2 separate regions of the Homo sapiens genome follow, and region 2 is linked to region 1. The links are contacts of gene promoters, found by promoter capture Hi-C in human tissues and cell types (Jung and others, 2019). All regions are on one chromosome and are shown on one strand. The core of a region is centred on a gene start or on the middle of the fragment in contact, and the rest is flanking DNA. Distances in the headings are between cores, read along the strand shown. Region 1 overlaps DLEU1 (deleted in lymphocytic leukemia 1). Region 2 holds the start of KPNA3 (karyopherin subunit alpha 3).

Region 1 (5,493 bases), core at 2,186-4,685:
AATTGCAGAAAAAATCTTGCATGCCCATGATGGGGGCACTCAGCAGTGGAAACAGCAAAAAGAGGGACCCATTCTACAGCAGAACTGCCTTTTTCAATAGTGCTATTGGGACCTGGGCTCATGTTCTTGCTGAGAAGAGCCACTAATATTACCTGGGAGTGAGTTGAGCCTTAAAGTCCTTGTCTGTGCAGCCCTGTGTTTTGAGCACTTTCCAGATGGTTCAAGAAGTTTGTAGAACTTATTCATAATTTGTGTAGCAAAACAGCTGCATTTTGGAGCCTTGATAGTAGTATCACAGAGTTGGGCTGGAGGAGAGTCAAAGACAGGGACATATGTGTCACCTGGGCTGCTTTGGAGATCTCAGGACTGTGACAGGACAGTGACACCGGCCTGCAACCATAGACCACCAGTGTGCACTTATAACCTGGGCTCAGACAGATATGCTGACTCCCAAGATGGCTGTATCTTGAGTTAATGGCACATAATTCAGCCCCTCACTGAGGCTTTCCTGGAAATCTAACCATGGACTGTATGTGCACTCAGTCCTGGAACTCCCTGTCTGAAAGTGCAAAAATGCCTGTTCTGGTGTTTGTTCATTTGCAGTAGTTGCATGAGCCTCTGTCCTCAGGGTCTCTGTTTCCTTCTTCGTGTCCTGTGTCTCCATACTGCTTCTCTTCAAGTGCCATCTGTGAGACTCAGGGGGATCCTCCGACATTTACGGTCCTTAGCAGTAGGGTTTTCCCTAGTGGTAAATGGGAGAGAATCCTGAATTCTAGTCACCAGGAAGCAGAAGTACGGCTGAGAGACACTGAAACTCAAGGTCAAGTCTTGCAGGCAAGGAAGAGAATAGCAAGTTGAGCCCTGGCTGATTCAGAGTCCTTTATACTATTGAGATGTACACATTTTTTGGATTATATCACCTGAAAAAGCATGAGGTTTCCACTGTGACATTTATTTTCTTGGCCTTGAAACCCAGAATATTGAGAATGTGGCTGTTAACCAAAGCCTCCTGAACTGAAGGAGGTCTTTTCTTGTATAGTGTGTGAAAGCAGAGAGGAGCTGTTCATTGTAGCCTTTGAAGATCACCTCTTAATTTCCCCGTGTTCTTATTCTCTAACGATGTGCTTCACTCTTCTTTGGAGGGGAGCCTCCTCTGTGCTGTTTGAGATCAGTACTTCCTACTGCCTTTATGATGGCCTTAGAGAAGTTCTCCTGCCGGATCTAGATGGATCTCACATTATGAAAGGAGCAACAGAACCCTGTAGGAAGGCCAGGGCTCTATTTATTTACATTTGAGGTGGTGGCTGTGGAGGAGGAAGATTCAAAACACACAAAGTTATGTATGAATTATGATGTGATATGTTCAGCTTTTAGCTCTCTACTGGGCAGCACTTCAAAGTTTGTTTCAATGGATTTTCTTCAGGGGGCCACACCAGCATCCTCCAAATGGGAGTCTGAGGATGCCTCCCATCTTACATCACTCACAGATCACTGCCAGAGCAACAAGAAACAAAAACCCTAACAATTTACAGTTCACCCTCTTTGATGTAAGGTGCAGTGGGGACACGAAGCCCAGGCCTCTGAGTAGGATGTAGTTGGATTGGCACAGAAAGCAAACTCTTCTTTCTTTCCTCAAGAAGAAGGAAAACTACACTAGCAAATTAAAAATATTAGCAAGCTTCTACTCAGATACATTTAGCTTGATTTGGGTCAAGGTGGGGGAAGGGAAGAGTAAGGAATTCAAACAGCCTGTGCCAAGGATTTGCTGAACATGTTCTTTAAAAAAATGCTGACAGGCATTAAATTAAGTAACAACTGCAGATTACACAAGGGTAAACACTGCTGCTAATGTTTGACTAAAAGCTAACTGAGGGCTCTAAGTGATTCCAGTTAATTTATAGATCACGCCAGTAACAGCCCCAGGGGACTGGGGCTGCTGAAGGTGGGAGATTCGTTTTATAGCCAGAAGCCACGTTTTTAATTTTAGAAAAAGAAAACTAAAGCTGTAGGAACTGATTTAGAAACTTCAGAGGGAGAGAGAGAAAAAGAGAGGGAGAGAGGGGAGGGAGGAAAGACAGAAAGAGAGAGAGAGGTGTAGGGGGAATGAATTGAATGTCTTTGCTGGGCTTGGGATAGAAAAGTGGCTAAGAAAAAAACAGAAAGAAACACATCTAACTTTAAATAACTCTTCCAGGAGGAGAGAGCATGCTAGGATCAAGAGTTAACTATTCCTATGGGGTAGGGGTCTTAAATTCAAGACTGTGCCAGGGGCTCCATCGACCCCAAATGAAAGAGTATAAACTGCCTCGTGTTATCAAATAAGATTAATTTAATTTTGCAACATTTAGCTTCAAGTTAAAATTTAAATATATGGTTGTACAGTAAATGATTTTAAAATTATAGTCCCTCCAACATAACCTCTCTTGACACAATTTTAAATGCTTTTTAAATGGGATGTGTAGTTTGTTTAGTACATAGCAGTTGATGTCCTTAGATTGGGTTTTCATCATGTATTTTAATTTACTAAGGCTGGGATGACCATAATTGCCTAACAATTCAATGCAACGGAATGGGCTACTTCAGCACTTTTTACTGCATTTTTCCATATAATATCTAAAAGTCACCCTGCGACACACACAGGCTATGTTTATGAAAGCAAGGCTTTAACCCTTGCATTTTTCTAGGTTTGAATAATTTTCTTAATAAGGCAAAAAATGTTTGCAAATTTGCACCATGATGTCAGCACGTCATTGTGAAGGAGGTAGGACTGGCCTGCACTTCAGGGATGAAGTCCTGTCCATTTGGTGTTTGCAAACCTTGAGGATCCTCGTGGAAGCCCAGTAACTCCAAAGACCCTTGTTTCTTCCCAAGTTTCTGTCTCCTTTCAGGCAAGGGCAAACATATCTGCTTTGCTAGGCCAGTCTTTAGTTTAATCTTAGAGTCTCAAAAACAAACAGTGGTAAGGTCTGGATAACATAGTTATCCATTTCTGCGTTTGCCCAGATGAAACTTTAAAAATGCTAAAAATACCAGGGCAATTTCTGTTAATTGCTCTGGATTATCAGGCTGGAGAAATGGATTGGGCGGGTATATTCTAGTCTATTAAATCTTGTGCTAACTTTACTGATATCGTCTCTTGGACTCTGGCAGCCTATTCTGCTTTTCAGCATTCTCCAGGGATGCTCCCAGCGTGTTGGAAACCAAACTCCCTGTCTGCAGAGACAGCCCTAACACCAAAACTTTTGCTTTACTAGAGAAGCCAGAAGAGAAAAATAATGCTGTTGCATCCTCTCTGACTCAGTTGACTCACTTTATGACTTTTATTGTCGGATCCCAAACTTGATGGCTGACCTGACTGAGGTCACCAGCCCCATAGGGCTATTTTAAAACTTTGAAAATCACAAGGCATTTTCAGTTCTTGCCACTTATGAGTTTGTGCAACTATTCTGATGAGTGATCCTTGAAGATACATTGCCTCGAAATATGAAGGTGTGCCAAGCTCTAGCAAAACTGAAAAAAAAAGTGTCATTTCAGAATGACCAGAATCAGTAGACATTGTTTATTACCCTTATCCTCCACACCTGATGTTAAAAACAAAGACTAGGAGCACCCATGCCTGCCAGGTCAGTTTATTTGTGAACATTGAGGAATGTCTAAAGGGGATTAAGCTTTCATGTATGGAAATGCTTTCTAATTCAAATAACCCACTGTAATTTTTTTTAAAGTGACATGAATTGATGATTGTAGATACTGTCATACTGTATGACCAAATAACATGATTATAATGATGTGGCATTTCCTTTCCTTGTCTTTAACAAAACATATGGCTTTAGGTTACATTTGTCTGGCTTTTGGTTCTTCTACTTTAACTTGAAAGATGAAATTTATGCAATTTCTCAAGATCCCGAGTCACAAAGTTGGGTAATGGCAAATGGTATCCTAATAACAACAATAATAACTGGATTTTATTGTGTAGCTATTCAGTGACTGCTCTAAACAACAACCCTAGAGGGCAGGTACTATTGTTATTCCATTGCAAGTTTAGGAAGTGAGGCACAGAGAGATGTCAGGCATCCACAGTCACACAGCAGTTGATGCAGGAGCGCAGATTCAGCCACACTGCCTGTTTTTATCTAGTTTTGGGCTCTGCCAGCGAGAGGAAATGTCACCACTCTTCCTTTCCAGGATCAAACTGCATATGTACACTATATTAGCTCCACCGGACTCTGTAATCTAACTTATTTTGGCATGGTAGACCCTTCATGCTAGAGTGGAGGAAGAGGGACTGGATTTATTCTCCATCGTGCCTGAAGAATCCATCTCCTCCTACAATTTAGAACACACATTTTGTTTTTTAAGATTGGACTATTTTATTGGAAAACAGTGGTAGCTACACTTAGCTTACTATTAATACATGTCAGAAATTTTTCAAAGTACTTTCCATTTCTTTTTCATTTTATTCTCACACTATGAAGTAGACAGTATTATCATCTCCATGTTATAGATGGGTATACTGAAACACAGATGAGTCATGTCAGTTACTTAAAATTGTCTAGTCAAAGGGACACAGAGATGGGCTCACGTCCAGGTAGCCAGGTCCCATAGTCCATGCTCTTAATGCTACGCTATCTTTCCAATGAGTTGATAACTAGTCAGGTGATTTGAGGGTTAGCAATAAAATGATTTGGACTGAGTTCTATCACAGCTGATGGAATTGCAGAATTGGCCATTTTATCATTAACAAGAGCAGTGCTGCCCCCCCGTTTCTGCCATTGTCATCGCAGAACATTCCAGAAGAAAGGTCCTAGGAGGATCTACAGTGGCTTGTGTTGTTCTCCCAGCATCTCAGACTGTGATATCTAACTCTTACTTCTCTTTTCTATACCTTGGTTCTCCTGCCTCAGAATAATAAGCCCAATAACAATAGCCTCTTTTTATTTGTGGTGTTTTCCAGCGTACAAAGCGATTTCTCACACTAGGTGATGTGAACCTCACTATGGTTCTGTAGGGTGTATTCAGTCTTCATTGTATTGATAAGGAAACTGTAGTTCAGAAACACCCAAAGCCACAAAATTGGTCAAAACGGGCTGGACTTAAAACCTGGCTTTATAGCTGGACGCGGTGGCTCAAGCCTGTTATCCCAGCACTTTGAGAGGCCAAGGTGGGTGGATCATGAGGTCAGGAGATTGAGACCATCCTGGCTAACATGGTGAAACCCCGTCTCTACTAAAAATACAAAAAATTAGCTGGGCGTGGTGGCGGGCACCTGTAGTTCCGCCTACTTGGGAGGGTGAGGCAGGAGAATGGCGTGAACCCGGGAGGCGGAGCTTGCAGTGAGCCGAGATCGCGCCACTGCACTCCAGCCTGGGCCACAGAGCGAGGCTCCATCTCAAAAACAAAAACAAAAACAAACAAACAAAAAACAAAACAAAAAAAACCCCTGGCTTTATAATCTCCTATCCCCTATCCCTATTCCCAAATCCTCCTGCAGTG
Region 2 (5,493 bases), core at 1,882-4,381, 730 kb before region 1:
TCCTATATGTGAAAAAATAGGCATCATAGCTTATCAAAGTGCATCTCACTGTTTTGGAACAGCCTGATAACCACAACTACTCAGTTACAGAGCTAAGTTGTACTGTTTCTAATGGACAAGACTAAGCATGGTTATCTACTCTTAGATATGCCTAAATCCCCAATAAAGGCCCTTCATCAGATTTGACCCCAGTTTACCCTTTAGTCTCTCTCTCTCCTACATTTCTCTCAGGACTCTTCAATTACTGCTCCCTCTAGTCTGGAATGCCCCTTTCTTCCACCAGCCTTCTCCCGCCCTTTGCCTGGCCACCTTTCTTTCATCCTTCACAATCAGCTCACTCCCATTCATCCATTAGAAATCAACCAGAGTATCTTCCCTTTCTGCTCACCTCCAAGTAGTTTTTTTGGCATGCATTTTCGGAATACTATACTGTAACAATTGTTGTTCTGCATTGTAATTATCACCCCCACTGGACTGTAAACTCCCTGAAGTACAGACTGCATCTTATTCCTTATCCCCAAGACCTAACATTGATAGATACCCAATAGACAATTAGTGAATAAATAATACCCATATCCACTGAGTGACATGCACAGGCTACATAAGCACACTGAGGTTTTTTATCTAAAGTTCCAGCTGGGTGTGACGACTAGCATCTGTAGTTCGAACACTTTGGAAGGCCGAGGCGGGAGAATCACTGGAGCCCAGGAGTTCAAGACAAGCTTGGGCAACAAAGCGAGACCCCGTCTCTAAAAAAGATTAAAAAATTAGCCAGGTGTGGTGGTGTCCGCCTGTAGTCCCAGCTACTTGGGAGGCCATGGTGGGAAGATTCCTTGAACCTAGAAGTTTGAGCTTGCAGCTGAGCTATGAGTGCCTGAGCACTCCAACTTGGGTAAAGGAGCAAGACTCCGTCTCAAAAAATACTTTACTCATGTAAAGTGGGGATAATGCCACACTTCATATACTTGTTACACAGATTAAATAAGGTATCATGAAGCTCGTAACAGTGTCTGCCACATTAGAACTACCATTTGAATGTCTATTTCATGTTTTAGTTACACTATAGAATCCCGAGAAATGTAATGTTGTGACCAATACCAGGCTGAATGGCTTAGCAACCATGCTCTTTTTCATGCATCTAAAAGTCACGGGTTACATTCTTATCAGCAAATATTTGTTGTGTACCTATTATGTGCAGGAGTCCTTACTAAGTATCACTGAGCTACCAGAACACAATAGAGGTAAACAATGAAACAAAAACCTGTACCAATATCCGAGAGAAGAATGTTACTGGTTTTTCTGTACAAACAATGAGTATTTTTCAATAAATTTTTATTTGGAACAGGATAGGCTTCAAGAAAAATTCCTAATGGGAAAAGTTCAAAATTAACACTTGTCATCAAGTGGACCAATAACAGGAGGCAGTTCCAAAATTTCTTGTTCCTATTCCCAAGTTTTACTTTCGCTTAGATGTATTTCTTACAAAGGGTATTTAACCATGACCAGGAAAGAATATATGATCTTTATTTGACTCATTTAAATGGGAATTCCACGGATATCTCCCTAGGTTCTTTCCTACTAGTATTTAATTTTGTAGCTCTGAAAAACGGCCTGAGTTTGTCTGTTTCTCTACAAAATAGAACACTGAATGGTATATTTACCCCACAACCTTCCTTAAGACAGGATAAAACACACCTCTTAATCACACTAGCTTATCAAAAATTACAAAACTGCAAATCATGTCGCCTAGTATTAGCAAAGAAGGCTGCGGCCTTAAAACCATTTTCCCCCTAACAAATCCAAAGGTCACGGTCCCAGTGAAGTTTGTGCATTATACTTACTGTTTTCAGTAGCTGCAGAGAGACCTCTAGCGCTGCCTCAATAAGCCGAGTTTGCAAATAGTACCTGCTAATGTCACCTTAATGAGACAATGGCAACATGCTGAGTAGCAACTAACTGAGTGACCGCGATGAATGTTTAGTTTTGCAACCACTTGGAAATTCTACTAGCTTGGAGCAAGAGGTATGTAAGAGAATTATGAACCTGTGTATCCAATTTATTTTAGTAAAACGTGTCAAAGAAATTATCACCCTATGCACACCCCACTCCAAGAAAGGCTAAGAAAACAAGTCCTATGAGCGGAGGTCGGAGCAACCTCTTTTCCGAAGCCTGAACACAATAGATGGCAAACTATTGTCCACCTTCAGCTCGCTCCAAATGCCAGCAGTTGCAGGAGTATGAGCTGCAACAGCTCGGCACGACTAGTCCAAAGACGAGCACTGGAATATAAGAAAATGGTCCTGGCGCATCCTACCCTCCCCCATCGATCACCCTCAAACAAGTCAGTTACCCGGCTGGTCCCCACCCCCCTCTGCGGGCCGCCACCGCCCGCCTGGGCCCGGCTCGCAGAAGGTAGGAGCCCGGACCGGCAGAGCCGAGGCTCCATGTGAGCCGCGCGGGAGGCGCAGAGGGGGCTGCACCGGACGGAAGGTTGCACCGGTGGCGGGCGCAAGCAGCGGCCGCCCCCTCGGCTGTGCGGTCGGAGGGCCCGGGCGGCAGCATCCCCGTTCATCCGGGCGGCCCTGGCCCGCGGACCCCGCCTCAGCTCCACATCCCCTCCTCGCCGACACCAGGCCGCGCCCGCGTGACGGGGCCGAAAACGCCGGCATTTCCCGGTCGCCGCGCCGGCAGCTCCGGGGGGTGACTGCAGCCCGGCCGGCGTCTCGCCGCCCGCTCCGCCCAGCCCGGGGCCGCGGTGACGGGAGGCGGCGGCCAACTCCGGCCGACCACAAGCCGACGAGAACCAGCCCGGCGCCGGCCCCCCGCCCCTCCCCGCGTCGCCGGGCCGGCGCGGCCAGGCGGGCCCAGACCGCGGAAGCACACTCACTTCCACATCGCGGCCCTTGTTCTTGAAGCTCTTGATGCGGTGGTTCTCCAAGCTGGGGTTCTCGGCCATGGCTGCGCGCGGCTCCGGCGGCGGCTACTCCTGCGGCTGCGGCGGCGGCGGCGGCGAATCTTGGAGCGGGAGGGGGAGGAGGGGGAGAGCGGGAGGGGGGAGGGGAGAGAAGAGCACGTTCTGTGACGCCTCCGAGCGCGAGGTGGCAGTAGCGCCGGGGGAGGCGCGGGCCGACTGCCGGGCCGGGTGGGGCGGGAACGGTGCTGAGAGCGGCGCGCGGCCGCGGAGGCTGGCGACACGTGACCGGGGGCGGTGACCGGCTTGGGCGTTCGCCGGGCTATACGTGCCCGTTGGTTCTCGGGATGACCCTGCCCTCTTCCCCTGCAAGGGCTCTCCACAACCCCTCGGTGCTGCAAGTTTTGTGCCAGAAATGGAGCCGGACCTGGCGACTTTTACTGCCCCTCAGGCGCGGGGCGGCGGTCGTCAACTACAGTTCCCATCATGCCACGATCCGCCTGGAGTAATTCTCCACGCCTAGTGAGAACGAGGAGAATGCCGGGACCCTTCCGCGCGCGGCTCTTTGCGCGCCGCGCTCATGTTGCTGGGCACAAAGCTCCGCCCCCACAAGGCCGCCTCTGGGCGGGGAAGAGCGGGGGAGCGTCCCTGGCACCTTGCGCCCTATCAGGAGGAAGAGGGCGGGCCTTCCTGGGAGCGCACCTCGCTGCCTGTAGCTAGAAGATCAGAAAAGGAACAACCGCGAGTGCTTTGCAGTCTCGCTTTTTTGGGGGTCTTCTCAAATAGCCACCTTCATTCGCTCTTCCCATGCTCTGCTTCAGTTTTATAAATAGCATTTCTACCTGACATGTACATGTGTATGTATGTGATACGAGTGTTTATATGCGTTACCTAGGTGCCCGCGCGGAAATTCAGCTCAATGAGAGCAGGTACTTTGGTTGAATTACTGCTGAATCTCTAGTGTCAAAACAATGCCTACCACGTCGTAGATACGCAATACTTGTTGAACTGGCGCTTTAGTGTCGCCCAGTTTCTTCATCATCCTTCCAAGCCCGGTTCTGCAACCTTCACTCTGGCAGTCCCTGTATTTACATGCCCCCCAACACTTCTTGTTCTACCACCACACAGAATCTTAGCCTTCAGGCAGCAGCCCAGCCCTGGTCCGCAGACTCTCCTGTGTAGCACTCCCACTCCCTCTGGGGGCATCGAAAGAATGAAAGAGGGAAATTTGGATGGATTACACTGATAAAGAGCTGCTTTCGGCCGGGTGTGGTGGCTCACGCCTGTAATCCCAGCACTTTGGGAGGCCGAGGAGGGCAGATCACAAGGTCAAGAGACCGAGACCAGTCTGGCCAACCATGGCCCGCATGGTGAAACCCCTTCTTTACTAAATATACAAAAATTAGCTGGGCGTGGTGGCGCATGCCTGGAGGCTGAGGCAGGAGAATCGCTTGAACCCGGTAGGCGGAGGTTGCAGCGAGCCGAGATGGCGCCACTGCACTCCAGCCTGGCGACAGAGGGAGACTCTGTCTCAAACAAAACAACAAAAACAACAACAACAAAAACAAAAAGCTACTTTCTGGAGCAGGTGGGCTTCATTTGCTTGTATGTTAATTTTCAGAATCTATGGTAGACATGAGCAGGTATGTAATGTTGTAGTACTTATAATTGAACTGAGGTCAAAAGTTGGTAGGACTATACCATGAAGAGATCAAAAAGGACAATCTTTAAAGCGAAAGGGCCTTGGCTGGGCGCGGTGGCTCATGCCTGTAATCCCAGCACTTTGGGAGGTCGAGGTGGGTGGATCACAAGGTCAGGAGGTCGAGACCAGCCTGGCCAACATGGTGAAACCCCACCTCTACTAAAAAAAATACAAAAATTAGACGGGCATATGGCGCATACCTGTAATCTCAGCTACTTGGGAGCCTGAGGCAGGAGAATTGCTTGAACCTGGGAGGCGGAGGTTGCAGTGAGCTGAGATCGTGTCACTGCACTCCAGCCTAGGCGACAGAGTGAGACTCCATCCCCAAAAAATAAAAATAAAAAATTCAAACAACCCAACAAAAACATGCAAAGGACACTGATCACAGAAAAAGAATAAATATATGAGGAGATACAGAAAAAAAAAAAAAAAAAAAAGCGAAAGGGCCTTAAAGAACCTGAGGCCCAGAAGTCAGGAATTCAGAAGCCTTTGGTGGCCAAGCTATGTCCAGGGGCATTCGTCTTGTGAGTGGTGGGGTGTGGCCTATTGATAAACACAGGCTTCAGATCCTCTGGTCATACTGGACTGTGGCCCAGTGTTGCCAGAAGATTCCACTTTTCAAGGAAAACCAAAAAGGTAGATTCTTTTTCTCTTTATTTTTAAATGTTAATTCACATTTTGTTAATGGACTTAAGCATTTCAGTCACTTCAGAATATCAGGTCCTCAGTTTGCAACACCTGATCTTAGTCTAACCACTCATTTGAAGGGAAACACACACACACACACCAGCTATGAATTTAGAAGGAATACATTAGGCAGGGCACAGTGGCTCATGCCTGTAATCCCAGCACTTTGGGAGGCTGAGGTGGGAGGATCACC

The links. The method cuts DNA at HindIII sites, captures the fragments that hold promoters and counts their contacts. A contact is called where the count stands out against the background at its distance.
Region 2: a contact is called between the fragment with the promoter of KPNA3 here and a fragment that was not itself captured in region 1, in 1 of the 25 tissues and cell types used here (liver).

What each region holds. Positions count from the first base shown.
Region 1 is chr13:50,520,133-50,525,625 of GRCh38, forward strand. All of the region lies in intron 5 of DLEU1 (deleted in lymphocytic leukemia 1), which reads left to right. DLEU1-AS1 (DLEU1 antisense RNA 1) reads right to left here. Exons shown (of 3, transcript NR_125753.1): 3 at 801-1,304. Among named protein-coding and RNA genes, the nearest start is that of DLEU1-AS1, 4.6 kb to the right of the region's middle. The HindIII fragment of the contact is 6,383 bases long and covers 245-5,493 here.
Region 2 is chr13:49,789,551-49,795,043 of GRCh38, forward strand. KPNA3 (karyopherin subunit alpha 3) reads right to left here and starts at 3,132. Exons shown (of 17, transcript NM_002267.4): 1 at 2,888-3,132. The coding sequence starts at 2,956. RefSeq lists enhancers at 1,647-2,166, 2,171-2,832, 2,833-3,494, 3,298-3,427 and silencers at 2,288-2,857, 2,978-3,227. The HindIII fragment of the contact is 11,550 bases long and covers 175-5,493 here.